4 separate regions of the Homo sapiens genome follow, and all the other regions are linked to region 1. The links are contacts of gene promoters, found by promoter capture Hi-C in human tissues and cell types (Jung and others, 2019). All regions are on one chromosome and are shown on one strand. The core of a region is centred on a gene start or on the middle of the fragment in contact, and the rest is flanking DNA. Distances in the headings are between cores, read along the strand shown.

Region 1 (3,646 bases), core at 631-3,130:
GACGCCGAGACTTGGCACGCCTGTTCTGGAACCATACCTGGAAGAGGGGAGAAAATAAAAGCTGCTTTTGGTTGGAGTTTTTTATGCTAACATTATGTTCACAGTTCATACTGGTAAGTTCCAGTTTAACATCCCCTGGCTTCCTCTCCAGAGCCTTGTCTTCAGAAAGCACTTGGGTTGACGATTAGAAGTTCAGAACACCTGGCTTTCCTTGCCTCCCCATTCCCAGATGGAAACATTGGAATAATGCCTAGTTCTATCTACTCTTTAGTTAGAGAAATTTTCATGAAAAATGGGGTCACAAAAATGGAAGCACTTAGAATTCTTAGAAAAAAACTGCATTAAATTATGAAGAAAACCTGTTTTTTAAGGTCTGCACTCCCTTGTCAAACTAATCAAGGAGGTATTTTGCTCATGCCAGCTGTTGAGACTGACAGCTGTATGACCGCCAGGGGTGCAGAGAAAACAAGTCCACTCTCCCAGTGTTTAAATGAGGGCTGCTACTTAAAACTGCGCTTGGACACCGACCACGGGGCTACAGACAGACAAAAAGGCAGGCTTCTCCTTACCAACTCTAAGATTCTGATCTAAATTACTTTAGATAATAAACACGGCCGGGCGCGGTGGCTCACGCCTGTAATCCCAGCACTTTGAGGCGGGTGGATCACCTGAGGTCAGGAGTTCGAAACCAGCCTGACCAACATGGTAAAACCCCGTCTCTACTAAAAATACAAAAATTAGCTGGGCGTGGTGGCTGGCGCCTGTAATCTCAGCTACTCGGGAGGCTGAGGCAGGAGAATCACTTGAACCTGGGAGGCGGAGGTTGCAGTGAGCCCAGATCGCGCCATTGCACTCCAGCCTGGGCAACAAGAGTTAAAACTCCATCTCAAATAAAAACTAAATAAATAAAAATAAACACACCTTGCACTAGATTTTTCAAACTGAAAACAAGCTCCAGGTGCTTCTCGCTTTATCTCAATTCGCTACATCCTTTCAAATCTAATCCCAAAACGTAACACTTGCCAAGAAAGTAGCATGGGGGTAACTTGGCGAGCCAGCCTTCCCCGTTTTCAGCTACCATTCTCACGCTCAAAGCCAGAGGAAAACCCCAACTGCCCCTCATCTGTGTCTTCTTCCCGGATAAAGAAAAAGTGTAAAACTTCTTATCTTCCTGCTGGGAATTACTTTCTGGCCATTTCAGGGGACCGGCTAGCCTCCTAGGAGCCCTTATTATATTTAATAATGAGAGAAATCGTTCAGTGCAGGCCTAAATTATTTCACACAGGCCTCGCAACCACCCTATGCAGCAGGTGCCGATATCACCCCCTATTTCAGTCTAGTACGCAGAGCCTCAGGGGAAGCACCGTGCCTGCAACGTCCCGGGTGTGGCCTCAGGAGCCCGCAGTCCAGACCTAGAGTCCGCAGCGCCTCCGCTCCAGCGCGCACTTGCGAACGCAGCGGGCCCTCACCTGGATCCTGGACTCGGGGAGCAGGGTGAGCGCGGCCAGGCGCTCGCGCAAGTGGATGTCGGGGTACCGGGTCCGGCGGAAGACGAGCTCCAGCAGCTGCAGCTGTTCGGCGCTGAAAGACGTGCGCTTGCGGCGCTGCGACGCCGACGGGGCGGCCGCGCCTTTGGGGGGCGCAGGCGAGCCCAGGCTGGCGGGGGGCGGCGGGGCCGGCCCGGGGTCCCGGCCGAGGAAGCCCGCAAAGGTCGCTGGGCCGGGGCCCGCGGGCGGCGCAGGGAGCAGGGCTGCCGCAGGGCTCGGGGGCGGCAGGAGCGCCCCGCCGGCGTGGGGGGCCCGGTACGCTGGAAACGCGGCGCCCTCGGCAAACTGGAGCGCACGGGACTCGGCTGTGGCCATCGCTCCGGAACCCAGCGCGCCGCTCGGAGGGGCGCGGGCCGCACTTATACCCTCCCGGGCCAGGGGCTGGGAAGGCGGGGCGGTGCGATCAAAGGTGGGCTCGGGGAGACCCGTGTCTCCTCCGGGTGCGAGCCCGCCCCCGGCCCCGCCAGACGCCGGGGAATAATCGCTTCCGCCGGCTGCGGGATGCAGGAGGGAGGCGTGAACTTGGGTCCCGGCCCCCTCCGTGTTCTTCCCCGCCCACCCGCCCGGACGGCGCAATCCACATCCCCGAAGGACTATTTGCCTGGGAGGGGCAGCCCGGAGGGGCCCGGGTGCGCGGGCCGCAGGCGACAGAACTCTCTTCTCCGGGTCAAATCCCCGTTAAGAGCGGCGGAAGCACCTTGCCTGGCCTGTGCCTTACATGGCCTGGGCCTTGAGCCTTGCCCTAGTCCCGTCTGTCCTCATCAAAGCTATTTATTTACCACCCCTGCTATGTGCTAGACCCTGTACCAGGTTGGTCAAACAGCCCGGCCCCTGTCTTCTGCAAGCCTCCCTAACACATCCTGAATCCAAGCGGGGAGGGGGGTGAAGATAAAGGATCCAGGGGGCAGCACATTCCTCCTGATTAAATGGGTGGGGGGAGTGGGGGGGTCTGGCTGGAATGTCCATGGGCCCACCAATAAAGATACCCTAGGTAGGGCGGGGTTGGCAACGTGCCCCATTAGCAGAGGATACGGCGCAGTTTGGCCTTTCTGGAGATACTCAACAATGCTTAAGACCCGTCTATTGGATGGGAGGAGATGAAAGCCACCTCATGAAGTTTCCACGCGCCCTGAATCATCATTCTTTCCTCTGCCCCTTGGGGCTCTGAAAGCTCCCATTTTCTCTACTTTGTGCTATGGTTATGGTTTCTCTATCTGCTAGATATAAAGTCTTAGCAAGCAGGAACCCACCTCTCCCTTTCTGAGTTTATTGAGTGTCTGCTTTGTACACCTATTCTGCGTGAGGCGCGGTGCTAGGCCCCTTAGTGAATGTCTGTCGAATTGGATGTCACTGAGCTCTCCTTATTGAAAGAGAAACCCATGGTCCACTATGGGAACTGCCCCACCACAGTGCAAGAACTCAAGAGAGGAACACAGAGGCCCAGGTCTTTTTGCCCCCAGCACCTGAGCGCTGATTTCACCGGGATCACTCACTGTGGTCGACTCAAAGGGAGATCTTTATTGGGAGGATCTTTCAGGGCACAATCCCCGTCCTGTCTCTGCATTCTAGAAGGTCAAAAGACAGTCTCAGAAGAGCTTGGATCTTTTTATCCTGGGTGGACATTCCAGGTGGCAAAGCGGAAAGTTTTCTTGGAGCTGCTGCAGAGAAGAATTTTGGGCTTGATTCTCTCCTGGCTGTGGTAAGGGGTGGGGTTGGCAGGGACTGTGTCCTGTGTAGCCCCTGAGGCCCTTCTGGGCAGCTGATATACTTACCTCCTGCTCTTCCATCTTCCTTCCACCCCTTCTCCTTTCTTTCCCCCTCTTCTCTTGGTTGCAGTGAGCCAAGATTGTGCCATTGCACTCCAGCCTGGGCAACAAGAGTGAAACTCTGACTCAGAAAAAAAAAAAAAAGTTAATTCCCCAGCATCTCCAAAACAGCCAACATCCATTGGCCAGGTGCAGTGGCTCATGCCTGTAATCCCAGCACTTTGGGAGGCTGAGGCGGGCGGATCACCAGGTCAGGAGATCGAGACTATCCTGGCTAACACGGTGAAACCCCGTCTCTACTAAAAATACAAAAAAAAAAATTAGCCGAGCATG
Region 2 (3,646 bases), core at 631-3,130, 180 kb before region 1:
TCCAGACTGTGTTGAGGCTAGAACAACACCGCTGTGGAGGAAGTTAGAGGAGGCTTAGCTGTGGGGGAGGCCGGATGGAGGAAACTGAACCTGATCAAGTTTAGCATTCTGGGGCCGGGCTTGGTGGCGCATGCTTGTAATCTCAGCACTTTGGGAGGCTGGGGTGGGCAGATTACTTAAGCTCAGCAGTTTGAGACCAGCCTGGCCAACATGGTGAAACCTGTCTCTACAAAAAAATGCAATGATTAGCGGGTCGTGGTGGTGCGTGCCTGTTAAGTCCCAGCTACTCCGGAGGCTGAAGCTGGAAGATTGCTTGAGCCTGGGAGGTGGAGGTTGCAGTGAGCTGAGATAGTGCCACTGCACTCCAGCCTGGGCGACAGACCCAGACCCAGACCCAGACCCTGTCTGAAAAAAAAAATAGTAATAACAACATTCTGGGCTTTCCTTTGGTATACTTGATAGTGAAAGAAACTCTTTATTATTAAAAGTAACTGTGATTTTTATGTAATGGTGATTAAGGGTGGATTCAGAGTTTTAATTCAGAATTTAAAGTTGGTCTGGTAGACTGAGCTGGTGAAGGCCAAAAAGAAAGAAGCCTTTTCACTTGCTTGAATTTAAATACCTTCTTTTACATTTACATGGGAGTATTGTTCTCTGAGTATCTGATACCTGACACTTTAGCCCTCATGCCTGGGGCATCTTGGGAGGGATGAGCTGGGCCCTCCAGCATTTTGGTGGGAGGAGGATGGCGGTAGACCTTTGAGTTGCTCTGTCCTGGGAGGGTTTGAGCACCCGGAGGCATGCAGTGAGGTCAGTTCATTCTCTCTGTGGCCTAGGTGGACAGGTAGCATGGCCTGTTCTGCACAGAAGGGAACCCAGTTCACCAGCTGCTGGTTGGGTGAGGACCCTGGTATGTTAGGTGCTCAGTTTTTGCTTGGGTGCACAGCCAAAGATTCTGTGCCTTGCCTCAGCTGTGCAGCTAACAAATGGAGTCGATAGTCTTGTGACCTTGGTTTGGTGCCTTTCTGCCACATCATTCTCAGTCCTGAGTTTAGGGCAAAGCATTGCTTTGGTCAGGGGTGCTTCTGCTGAGGCTCTTGTCCTCTAAGCTTGTGCTGTGATTGCACCATTGGGCAGCACCTCCAGGGTGTCCAGCACTGTGCCGGTGGTTGGGGGAGACAGCACCCAGACCAAAGGGCAGCAGGTCTGGGGCCCCTGGCAGAGCCAGGAAGAAGTGCCATAGCCATTACCTGTGCTCTTTATACAAGGGTAACTGGAACATTGCACAGGAAGGGTAGACAAGGGGTAGACAAGCAGGCAGAGCCAGGTCGAGGCCATTGCAAATATTCCATGATAGCCAGATGCTTAGGGATCTGTATCAGCAGCCTAATTGAGATCTGGTGGAACGTTTGAGAGTTGGAACATGAGTATGCTCTCAGAAATGCCATTTGTTGTCTCTTCTACAGCAGGAATTTCCCCATCCTTCCTTTTTTGTTCCATCTGACTTGGAGCCCTAAGCAAACACTGCGTGCCCTCTGTGACATGTTGCTAGAGAATAGCAAGATAGGCCCTTATGAAATAATCACCAAATGCATAGTTCTTAGTGAGGGGAGCTGTGGAAGGAGCATTGGGAGATCTGAGGGAGTGCTCTGAACAGGGCTGGAGAGCATTCCAGACCCAGGGGAAAGCTGATGTTGAGGAGTCCTTGTGCTGCCATAGTCTTAGCTGTGCATTTTAATACATCACATCCAGAAAGAGGCCACTCACAGTGGAGAGAGATAGTGGGGTACCTTATCATTGCTTTTCCAGAGTATTTTCCCTGTCCCCGCAACTCCATCCTAAAAATTCAGCACATTTACTTTTAATGCTGTTTTAATAGTCTTATTGCATCTGTGTGACATTTAGCTTTATGTTCTATAAAAGCAGATGTTTGGGACTTCCCTTACTTTAGTCAGATCACAGTTGGTGTATTTTTAAGTAGCTCTTCCTGCCGGGCAGTGGAGTGTGGTGGGAGGAATCATAGTGTCAAATCATTCATTTGCTGCCTCTGTGACTCCCAACCCCCCAGGCAAGGATTTCCAGCCCCACTGTCTCCATCTGTGAATGAAAGGGCTGGTTCCCACCCAGAGGCAGATTGTGGGATTACACAGGATGGCTTATGAAAGGAGCAGGGACACACACTACATACTGTGTCTTCCCCTTCTTCCCAATCGCTGTCACCGTCCACTCTGTAAAGCCAGGACTGGGTGCAGTGGTTCATGCCTGTAATCCCAGCACTTCGGGAAGCCGAGGCGGGCGGGTCACGAGGTCAGAAGTTCGAGACCAGCCTGGCCAACATGGTGAAGCCCCATTGCTACTAACAATACAAAAATTAGCCAGGCATGGGTGGCACGTGCCTGTAGTCCCAGCTACTCAGGAGGCCGAGGCAGGAGAATCGCTTGAACCCAGGAGACAGAGGTTGCAGTGAGCTGAGATCGCACCACTGCACTCAGTGCAAGACTCGGTCTCAAAAACAAAGCCAGACAGTGCTCGAGGCCTGGGAGCAGAACCTGACCCTGTCACAATGAAAGGCCTAGTGGGAAGCAAACCACCTGGAGAGGGGAACTGTGTTCCCTGTGGCCAGACTTCTCAGGTCCTACGCCTGGGAAACTGCGCCCCAGAAGGCCAGTGAGCAGCTGACTCCAGCTCTAGGCATGCTGCCCCGAACCATCCGCTGTCACAGTTGCCTCAAAGACCTCCATTCATTCCACTCCCATCTGTGTGGCTGCTGCAAGCTTGACACTTTTTTCTGACACACTTTCTCTGCTTTGCTCATTATCTGGGACTTGTTCCTTGTTATTCTTAACTGCAGAGGCACTTAAAGAGCCCTTTTCTGGGGCACACAGGCCCTTTGAGTCCAGGCAAGCCTGGAGCAGTTGTCTGGCCATTCCCAGCAGATGCTGCAGGATTGTGACTCTGCACAAGTGTCTTCTGTGCATTTCACTAGGCCATGAGGCAGCTCACCACTAAATGTAGCAGTGTGTGGTCAAAAGGGACGTGGGGCAGAGCTCAGTGGTAAAAGGCCACCTTTCTCGTGGCTGTGTTTGGTGTCCTAAGAGAATGAGCTCAAGAACAGTGGGCTACAGTCTTCTGACCCTTGGGGAAGATCGTGAGAAGGATGCTGCAGCTCTTCATGTGAGAGCGGAGGCTGTCCTCCTTTCACAGATAGGAGAACAAAAGTTTCATGTGCTATCCCACTGCTGGGGCTGGGACTGGGGTCGAGGTCAAGGTCAAGGTCTAGTGGGTCTAAGTCAAAAGTTAACTGCTTACTTACTTCCCTCTGTTTCTCTTCCTTCTAGTCGCCCATGTTTGATGGAAAAGTCCCACACTGGTACCACTTCTCCTGCTTCTGGAAGGTGGGCCACTCCATCCGGCACCCTGACGTTGAGGTGGATGGGTTCTCTGAGCTTCGGTGGGATGACCAGCAGAAAGTCAAGAAGACAGCGGAAGCTGGAGGAGTGACAGGTGTGTACATACTGGGGCAGCATGGGCATTCAGCCCCCACCCTGAAGCTCCCAGGAGGGCCTCGTCTCAGAGAGCAAAGCAAACCTCCCCCAGCTTGCCCTCTCCCACATGTGCAGATCAAGCGTATGGTGCCCATGTTATT
Region 3 (3,646 bases), core at 824-3,323, 150 kb after region 1:
AACTTAGACTTTAGTGAACTTTTCTGGAATCTTAGAAGGTGTTTGTTGGCTATTTACTTTGCTATTGAAAAGCTGAAACAAAGTGGTAATTCTAGCTAGTCTCCATACATTTTGGGCCGAATTCCAATTCACTCTAGGTTTTTTTTCTGGGTGGGACTGCCATATAGCAACTCTGAAGCATCATAGGAAAGAGGATTATGAGCCTAACAGTTACCGAGCATTAACCCAGGGATTAAAGAGCTGGCAGATCCACTTACACCTGAGTCAAAGGATAGCCCTGAGCTCAAAACTACTATGCATATTTGTCAGGTCCTGGTAAACTAGGAATATATAAGAATACATGCCCAATATTAACATAGCATTGTATGAGACAATTCAATAAATTGACCAGACATTTGTGTACATACGTTGAGTGCCAAGTTTATCTTTGTGCTTTTTTCTATCTGGCTCATTTTATAATGTACAACTTACTGTATTATACCTGGACAGTGAGCACATAGTACTAAATATTTGTTTAAACATTGAAATTATGTTTAAAAAAAGAATTGTTAACAACCACTTCATGGGGCAATAAAAAATGTACTTTTAGAGCATTAAAACTTTTCGAGATTTTAGGATTCCAAGAACTCAAAGGACTGTATTGTCTACTTGTAAATAACTGGTCTTTATCAGATTCCAGCAGGTAACATTAACTTCCTCCCTTACTGGAGACACCTTTTTCTTCTGAAGTGTTTCATGAAAAGGCCATTTGGTCTTTTGCACTGAAAAACTGGATTGAACAGAGAACATTCAACTACAATTGGCTTTTAGTAACTTATATTGAGAAAGTTCCAAGTGTTACCCGTACTTCCCTGTAGAAGTACATGCAAAAGATCATACTGAAAACTAGGATGCATGCTAACAAAATCAGCCTCTTAAAGTAATTAATTCTCCCATTAAAGAATTTTATAGTCACCTATAGTCAAAAGATTAAGTTATGGCTAAATGTTTAAGAGCAGTAAGAATGCAAGCCCAGTGTCGTATCTTACTGACATGCGTCTATTCTTGGCATAGTTATTAACATTTCGTATCACTTCTAGGGCAGTTTCAAACACTCAAACGTTACAACTAATGGGATGTGTTAAAAGTCTTAGAAGGTTTAATTATCCTCATTTCACATTAATTGTACCAACACTAAATAAAACAGGGCTAAGAATTAACTATTAGTGCTTGAATAAATTCAGGGTTAACTAATAGAGCATCTTAAAATAGCCAGATCTTGAATGCATTAATTTTTGAGCTAAAGACTGTTACACACTCTCATTTGTTATTAAACATTCATGAAAGTTCAATCTACTTACAGATTCCACTATTTCCAGGTGATCCTGTTGATTAGCTTTTCGAATTATTGGTTCAGAAGACAACACATCCAAAGAGTTAAGACCACTGGGTAGTGGCAAGCTTCTAAAAATTAGAAATAAAGCCAAGTTCCTTTTGCCACCAAGTCTATACTTTCCTTCTCTCTCAATAAGTCTCACGTCTCAGATATAAAGTGACTATTAAAGGACTTAATACTGAAATTATTTGGAATATAATTGTAGGGCAAGGCTATAATAAAGACCAAAAGCAGGTATAGTTTAATGTATTTTAATAGCAAACTTACAGGAACAGCACAGAAGACAGACAACATTAAAAACATGTACTTGCATGTAGGACAACTCAGTTAGAAAAGTATAGTGAATGGATGGAATCTACTGTATGATAAAAATGCTACAAACACCATTTAGTTGCCATCAATAAGAAATTTACTTGTTTTAAAAAAATCCAAATGCTGGCATTGTCCAGAAAAATTTAACAGGTTTATTTATAATTATTATAAAGTTGAACCGCTGAAACTTGTTCACTGAAACATTTTAACTTGCATTAATGCTTTACGTCTCCGCATTTATATTAAAAATTCACACACAAATGAAAATGGAAAAACTGCCAATACCTGATTTCTGTCCCCTATTTTTCCACTCGCAATCATATACTTAGGTACCTTTTGACCCCATGGAAAAAAAATATCTAACGTTCAGAACTACCAATAACAGGAAGAAGAGAAATTTTTTTTTTTTTTTTTGAGAATGAAATGTTTCCCATCATAGTGGATTCTTAAGCACGTTCTCCACGTATGCGGCGTGCTAGCTGGATGTCTTTTGGCATAATTGTTACACGTTTGGCATGGATAGCACACAGGTTGGTGTCTTCAAAAAGGCCAACCAGATAGGCCTCACTTGCCTCCTGCAAAAGGAATGAAGAAAAAATTACTGATGATGTTATTTCCAATAGTTAAGACCCAACTATACGAATTAAAACAAAAAGGTTTTTGAACCCTTTAAAAAAATGACTGGGCAAGATGCTGACAATTTTACCAAATGCTTACATTTTACAACCTGTGGGACAAAGCTCAAAAGCAGCTTATGAAAAAAAACAAAAGCTTAAGTCAGTAAATCTTTTATCAAGTTACACAAATCAAATTACTTTGTTACTAGGAAACTTCAATTTTTCTAATGGTAACATGATTTCTAATAAACTGAAATGTCACAAATAAAGCAAGAAATCCAATTTAACACTCTCATTCTTATAAACGCAATCATGTCCAATCCAAATACCCCATCCCAGCCTAGTCTCCTCCTCACTCTGAATCCCATTCACACAGTATGTGAACCTCTGCCTTGTCCAGTAGTATAACATGGTGAACAAGTGGTTTTTATCACATGCTTCTCATCTATGTTCCCTTTCATACCTGTTTTATCATAAGAGTACTTTTGATTCCAGAACATATCACAAGTTAGTTCCGTATTTCTTTCTTTCTTTCTGAGATGGAGTCTTACTCTGTCGCCCAGGCTGGAGTGCAGTAGCGCGATCTCGGCTCACTGCAACCTCCACCTCCCGGATTCAAGCGATTCTCCTGCCTCAGCCTCCCGAGTAGCTGGGACTACAGGTATGCGCCACCATGCCTGGCTACTTTTTTGTATTTTTAGTAGAGAAGGGGTTTCACCATGTTGGTCAGGCTGGTCTCGAACTCCTGACCTCGTGATCCACCCACCTTGGCCTCCCAAAGTGCTGGGATTATAGGCGTGAGCCACCGCGCCCGGCAGTTCCTTATTTATTTATTTTGAGACGGAGTCTCTCTTTGTTGCCCAGGCTGGAGTGCAGTGGCAAGATCTCAGCTCACTGCAAGCTCCACCTCCCAGGTTCATGTCATTCTCCTGCCTCAGCCTCCCGAGTAGCTCGGGCTACAGGCGCCCACCACCACGCCTGACTAATTTTCAGTAGAGATGGGGCTTCATTGTGTTAGCTAGGATGGTCTCGATCTCCTGACCTCGTGATCCTCCTGCCTCGGCCTCCCAAAGTGCTGGGATTACAGGAGTGAGCCACCGCAACTGGCCTGGCAGTTCCTTATTTATATACTTTGATCTATGCCCCGGAAACATGCCCCTGTCCTCTACCAAGTACCTTCCTCTACGTACCCCAATTTGTAACAGCATTTGTTGCCCTCTAGTACTAGTATCGATTTCTCTGGTTTTTCCCATTTGACTGTAAGATCCTTTCAAGTTATCTTATTCCTACTACCACTTAAAAATGACAGTGTATGAATCACTCATTGACACTTAACTTGTGA
Region 4 (3,646 bases), core at 349-2,848, 130 kb before region 1:
TGAGGCCAGGAGTTCAAGACCAGCACCTTTGACCTGGAGACCCTCTCTCCTGATCATCCAGCAATCCAGGCTGTTCGGCTCTTGGGCTCCTGAGTATTCTGCACTCTTTACCTTTTTTTTTAATCAGCACAGAGAAAGGCAATTACCCTCACAGTACCTGATGAAATAAGTATTTTTAGGTTGGAGTGATTACTTAGTGAGTTCCCTGTAATCAAAACTGGTTTCTTTTTTTAAGGAAGATTCACATTTCTCAATCTATTTTCCTTTCAAAAGAGAGAAATTAGCACTTTATGTTTTAGTATACACATTCTGCTTTTCTCCCTTCACTTTAAAAAAATTCAAGTCCTGGCCGGATGCAGTGGCTAACACCTGTAATCCCAACATTTTGGGAGGCCAAGGCGGGCGGTTCACGAGGTCAGGAGATGGAGACCATCTTCGCCAACTGGTAAAATTTCATCTCTACTAAAAATACAAAAATTAGCTAGACATGGTGGCGCTCACCTGGAATCCCAGCTACTCAGGAGGCTGAGGCAGGAGAGTCGCTTGAACCCGGGAGTCAGAGGTTGCAGTGAGCTGAGATCATGTGTGGCAACAGAGCAAGACTCCGGTCTCAAAAAAAAAATTCAAGTCCTATCTCAGGGTAGCAACTAAAATGTGAGAATTTCGTTTAAAAATTAAAGCCAACCGTGAACCTGGGGTTGGAGCCTGCAGTGAGCCGAGATCGCGCCACTGCACTCCAGCCTGGGCAACACAGCGAGACTCCGTCTCAAAAAAAAAAAAAAAAATTAAAGCCAACCTTGCATAGAAACTCGGGGTGCTCCATGAGAGAAGAGAGAGGTATAGCCCTCTGCCCCTCCTGGTGAGCTGCCCTCCTCCCGCCTTTGTGCCTGGAAGTGCCCTTGGCCAACAGTAGTTGCCCAAGGCAGTACTGGGCTCACATGTCAGAGCACACTGTTGCACACAGTGGTGCATGCATACATCTATAAAAGATGCGCTGCGTACACAGTAGTGTTTTAGCCAATGTGCTAGCCAATGAATTCTGCATCAGTGGTTATCTCTTGCTACACAAGAGGTGAAGAACCATTCCTTCAAGCGTCCCAGAGCTCTAAGGCGAAGCTGCTATAGAATGATTTGCCTAGAACTTTGCCTTAGGGCAAACCTCAAGTACTGCTTTTAGGAATGAAATCTAATGGTGGCCTTGTCCCTGGTGCGGGCATAGTATGTACTCAGTGTTAATTGTTTACACCAAAAGCCTGGAAGCTGCATTGTCTTTTGGCCTTCAGAAACCTTGTATCTTAACTGTTAAGATCTGAACATTGGGAATCATTCACCTCTGACCTGTTGGGCTGGTTTTATTCCGCTCTATAAAGTACACCCAGGTGCTTTAGGAGTTCGCATTTCTCAAAGTGGTGTCATTGCCTTTCCCTTAAATTCTGTTTTGACTCCTCAGAGATTGGTGGTTGCTTTTTTGAGGCATAGTGTTTCCACCATTTCATCAGGCAGGGCCTGCCAAATTGAGTCTAAGTTGAGGCCATTGAGGTTTAGGGAGGTCTGATACAGTGCTTAGCATCCCACTGCCCCCTCACTTCTGCCATTCAGCCTCAGCATGGAAGGTTAGATGGCAGCTTCCCTTTGGCATGTGCCAAATATGCCCATTTGTATGGCTTAAGAGGTCAATGTTGGTTTTCTCATTTCTCTTTACTGTTCTCTAGAGCAGGTCATCTAGGTTATAAGATATATTTTGGAGACTTCAAAAGTAAAGAAAATGTGGCCTGTAAACACCTTCCTCCTCAGCGAATTAGCCCTTATGTGAAAAATGTTGCCCACTGGACTAGGGAACAGTGCTGGTAATAGGGACAGCTGGTGTGCGTCCTATGGGCCATGTGGACTCAGAGCACTCAATGCCACCCACCACTGTGGCATTCTGTATAGCTTTGCTTCTGATCAGCGACCTCATTCTACAGCACAGAGTTCAGCATCAGGCTTGTACTTAGAATTAACTGGTTTTGCCACATGCCCCATCACCCAGAAATGACCTAAATGAAGAGTAGAATGGCTCATGATGGTGCCAGTTGTGAGACAGCGTCCTGAAGGGATGGGGTTTCATCTTACGGATGCAGTAGAGGCTTGAAATCAGAGACCAACCTGGTGTCTCCCCCCCGGCCAAAGCACATGGGTCTGGGAACCAGTGGGTGAGGTGGGAGTAGTTCCTCTTGCTGTCACCACATCTGATATCCCCTCACAGGGCTTGTGTTTGGAGGTCTTAGTCCCTAAGGGAGAGATGCTTCTAGCGGACAACACAATTATGGTTTCATCGACTTAGAAGATGAGGCTACCATATGGCTGTTTGGGGCTCCTTGTACCACTGCAGCAATGTGCAGAGGAGGGGGTGACCTTGCTGGCAGAAGGGACTGATCCTGATTACCAAGGGGAAAGTGGGATGCTGCACAGGGAGGCAAGCAGGACTATGTCTAGAGCCCAGGAGATTCTCGGGAGGGCTTTAGTGCCACCATGTCCAGTGGTAAAGGCAAGGGGAAGTACAGCAACCAAAAACACTGCAACTCCAAAAAATGACAGCACTGTGGAAAATTCAGACCCTTCAGGAACGAAGGCTTGGGTCACTCTAGTCAACAGGTTCTGGCTGAGGGCAAAGGAAGTAAGGAATGGGTGCTAGAAGGAATGTCACAGATGTCCACTATGGCTTCATGACCAATTACAGAAAAAAAGACCAAAGCAGCCAGTTAGAGGGGCAGAGACATTGCAGGTTTTAGGGGGTTTTGTTGTTGTGTTTTGGGGTTTTTTGAAACAGAGTCTCACTCTGTTGCCCAGGCCAAATTGGAGTGCAGTGGCGCCATCTCAGCTCACTGCAACCTCCACCTCCCTACAACTTCTGCCTCCCGGGTTCAGGGGATTCTCCCGCCACAGCCTCCCTAGTAGCTGGGATTACAGGCACACACCACCACGCCCTGCTAATTTTTGTGTTTTTAGTAGAGATGGGGTTTCACCATGTTGGCCAGGCTGGCCTCAAACTCCTGGCCTCAAGTGATCCACCTGCCTCGGCCTCTCAAAGTGCTGGGATTATAGGTATGAGCCACTCCACCCGGCTGAGACGCTGCAGTTTTAAGCCACAGAACAAGTCTAGCCTGAGTGTAGGGTTTCTGATGGTGAGTTACAATGGCTATGCATACACTCAAATCGAGTTCTTTATTATAGGGTACCTATAAATGTGTACATCACATTTGTACCCCTAAAAGTCCTGCCCTTTAGTTCAGTGGATTCTGGATTCTGAGGATACTCTTGGTCCTTTCCAGAGATGAAGGCAGGCAGGGGTCAGGGCCCACAGAAGGGAATCCCTATATTCTTGGGGTTGTCTGAGCCAGGGCTCATGCCTGTCTGGTGCTTTCAACCAAACCTCTCTCATGGGCTCTGTAAAAGGAACAATCAGGCCATTCTGAATCCCCCAGATCTTGTACCTACCTTTTAGAATTGTCTTGAGAGTGTGTGTGCTGATTCTCCTAAAGTACTTCGTGTGGTTCCTGACCTATAATAAGTGCTTCATAAATCTTAGTCATTATTGTTAAAATCCCAAAGAGTGGTTTTGCTCGAGTCTGAATCCAAAAAGGAAGCTCCAGGTAAGAGGAGAAAC

The links. The method cuts DNA at HindIII sites, captures the fragments that hold promoters and counts their contacts. A contact is called where the count stands out against the background at its distance.
Region 2: a contact is called between a fragment that was not itself captured here and the fragment with the promoter of MIXL1 in region 1, in 4 of the 25 tissues and cell types used here (H1 embryonic stem cells, lymphoblastoid cells, pancreas and 1 more).
Region 3: a contact is called between a fragment that was not itself captured here and the fragment with the promoter of MIXL1 in region 1, in 1 of the 25 tissues and cell types used here (liver).
Region 4: a contact is called between a fragment that was not itself captured here and the fragment with the promoter of MIXL1 in region 1, in 2 of the 25 tissues and cell types used here (mesendoderm cells and thymus).

The regions. Positions count from the first base shown.
Region 1 is chr1:226,221,898-226,225,543 of GRCh38, reverse strand. It overlaps MIXL1 (Mix paired-like homeobox), which reads right to left and starts at 1,880. Exons shown (of 2, transcript NM_031944.3): 1 at 1,470-1,880; 2 at 1-37. The coding sequence starts at 1,862. LOC124904528 (a long non-coding RNA gene) reads right to left here and starts at 3,405. Exons shown (of 2, transcript XR_007066907.1): 1 at 3,320-3,405; 2 at 3,046-3,205. RefSeq lists a silencer at 1,162-1,456 and an enhancer at 1,502-1,561. The HindIII fragment of the contact is 15,954 bases long and covers 1-3,646 here.
Region 2 is chr1:226,402,072-226,405,717 of GRCh38, reverse strand. It overlaps PARP1 (poly(ADP-ribose) polymerase 1), which reads left to right. Exons shown (of 23, transcript NM_001618.4): 2 at 3,339-3,504. Among named protein-coding and RNA genes, the nearest start is that of PARP1, 4.2 kb to the left of the region's middle. RefSeq lists a cis regulatory region at 2,176 and enhancers at 2,104-2,248, 1,889-2,790. The HindIII fragment of the contact is 5,776 bases long and covers 1-3,646 here.
Region 3 is chr1:226,069,967-226,073,612 of GRCh38, reverse strand. It overlaps H3-3A (H3.3 histone A), which reads right to left. Exons shown (of 4, transcript NM_002107.7): 4 at 1,594-2,262. The coding sequence ends at 2,134. Among named protein-coding and RNA genes, the nearest start is that of H3-3A, 9.1 kb to the right of the region's middle. The HindIII fragment of the contact is 4,533 bases long and covers 1-3,646 here.
Region 4 is chr1:226,356,591-226,360,236 of GRCh38, reverse strand. No RefSeq gene overlaps it. Among named protein-coding and RNA genes, the nearest start is that of LIN9, 49 kb to the right of the region's middle. The HindIII fragment of the contact is 5,424 bases long and covers 1-3,646 here.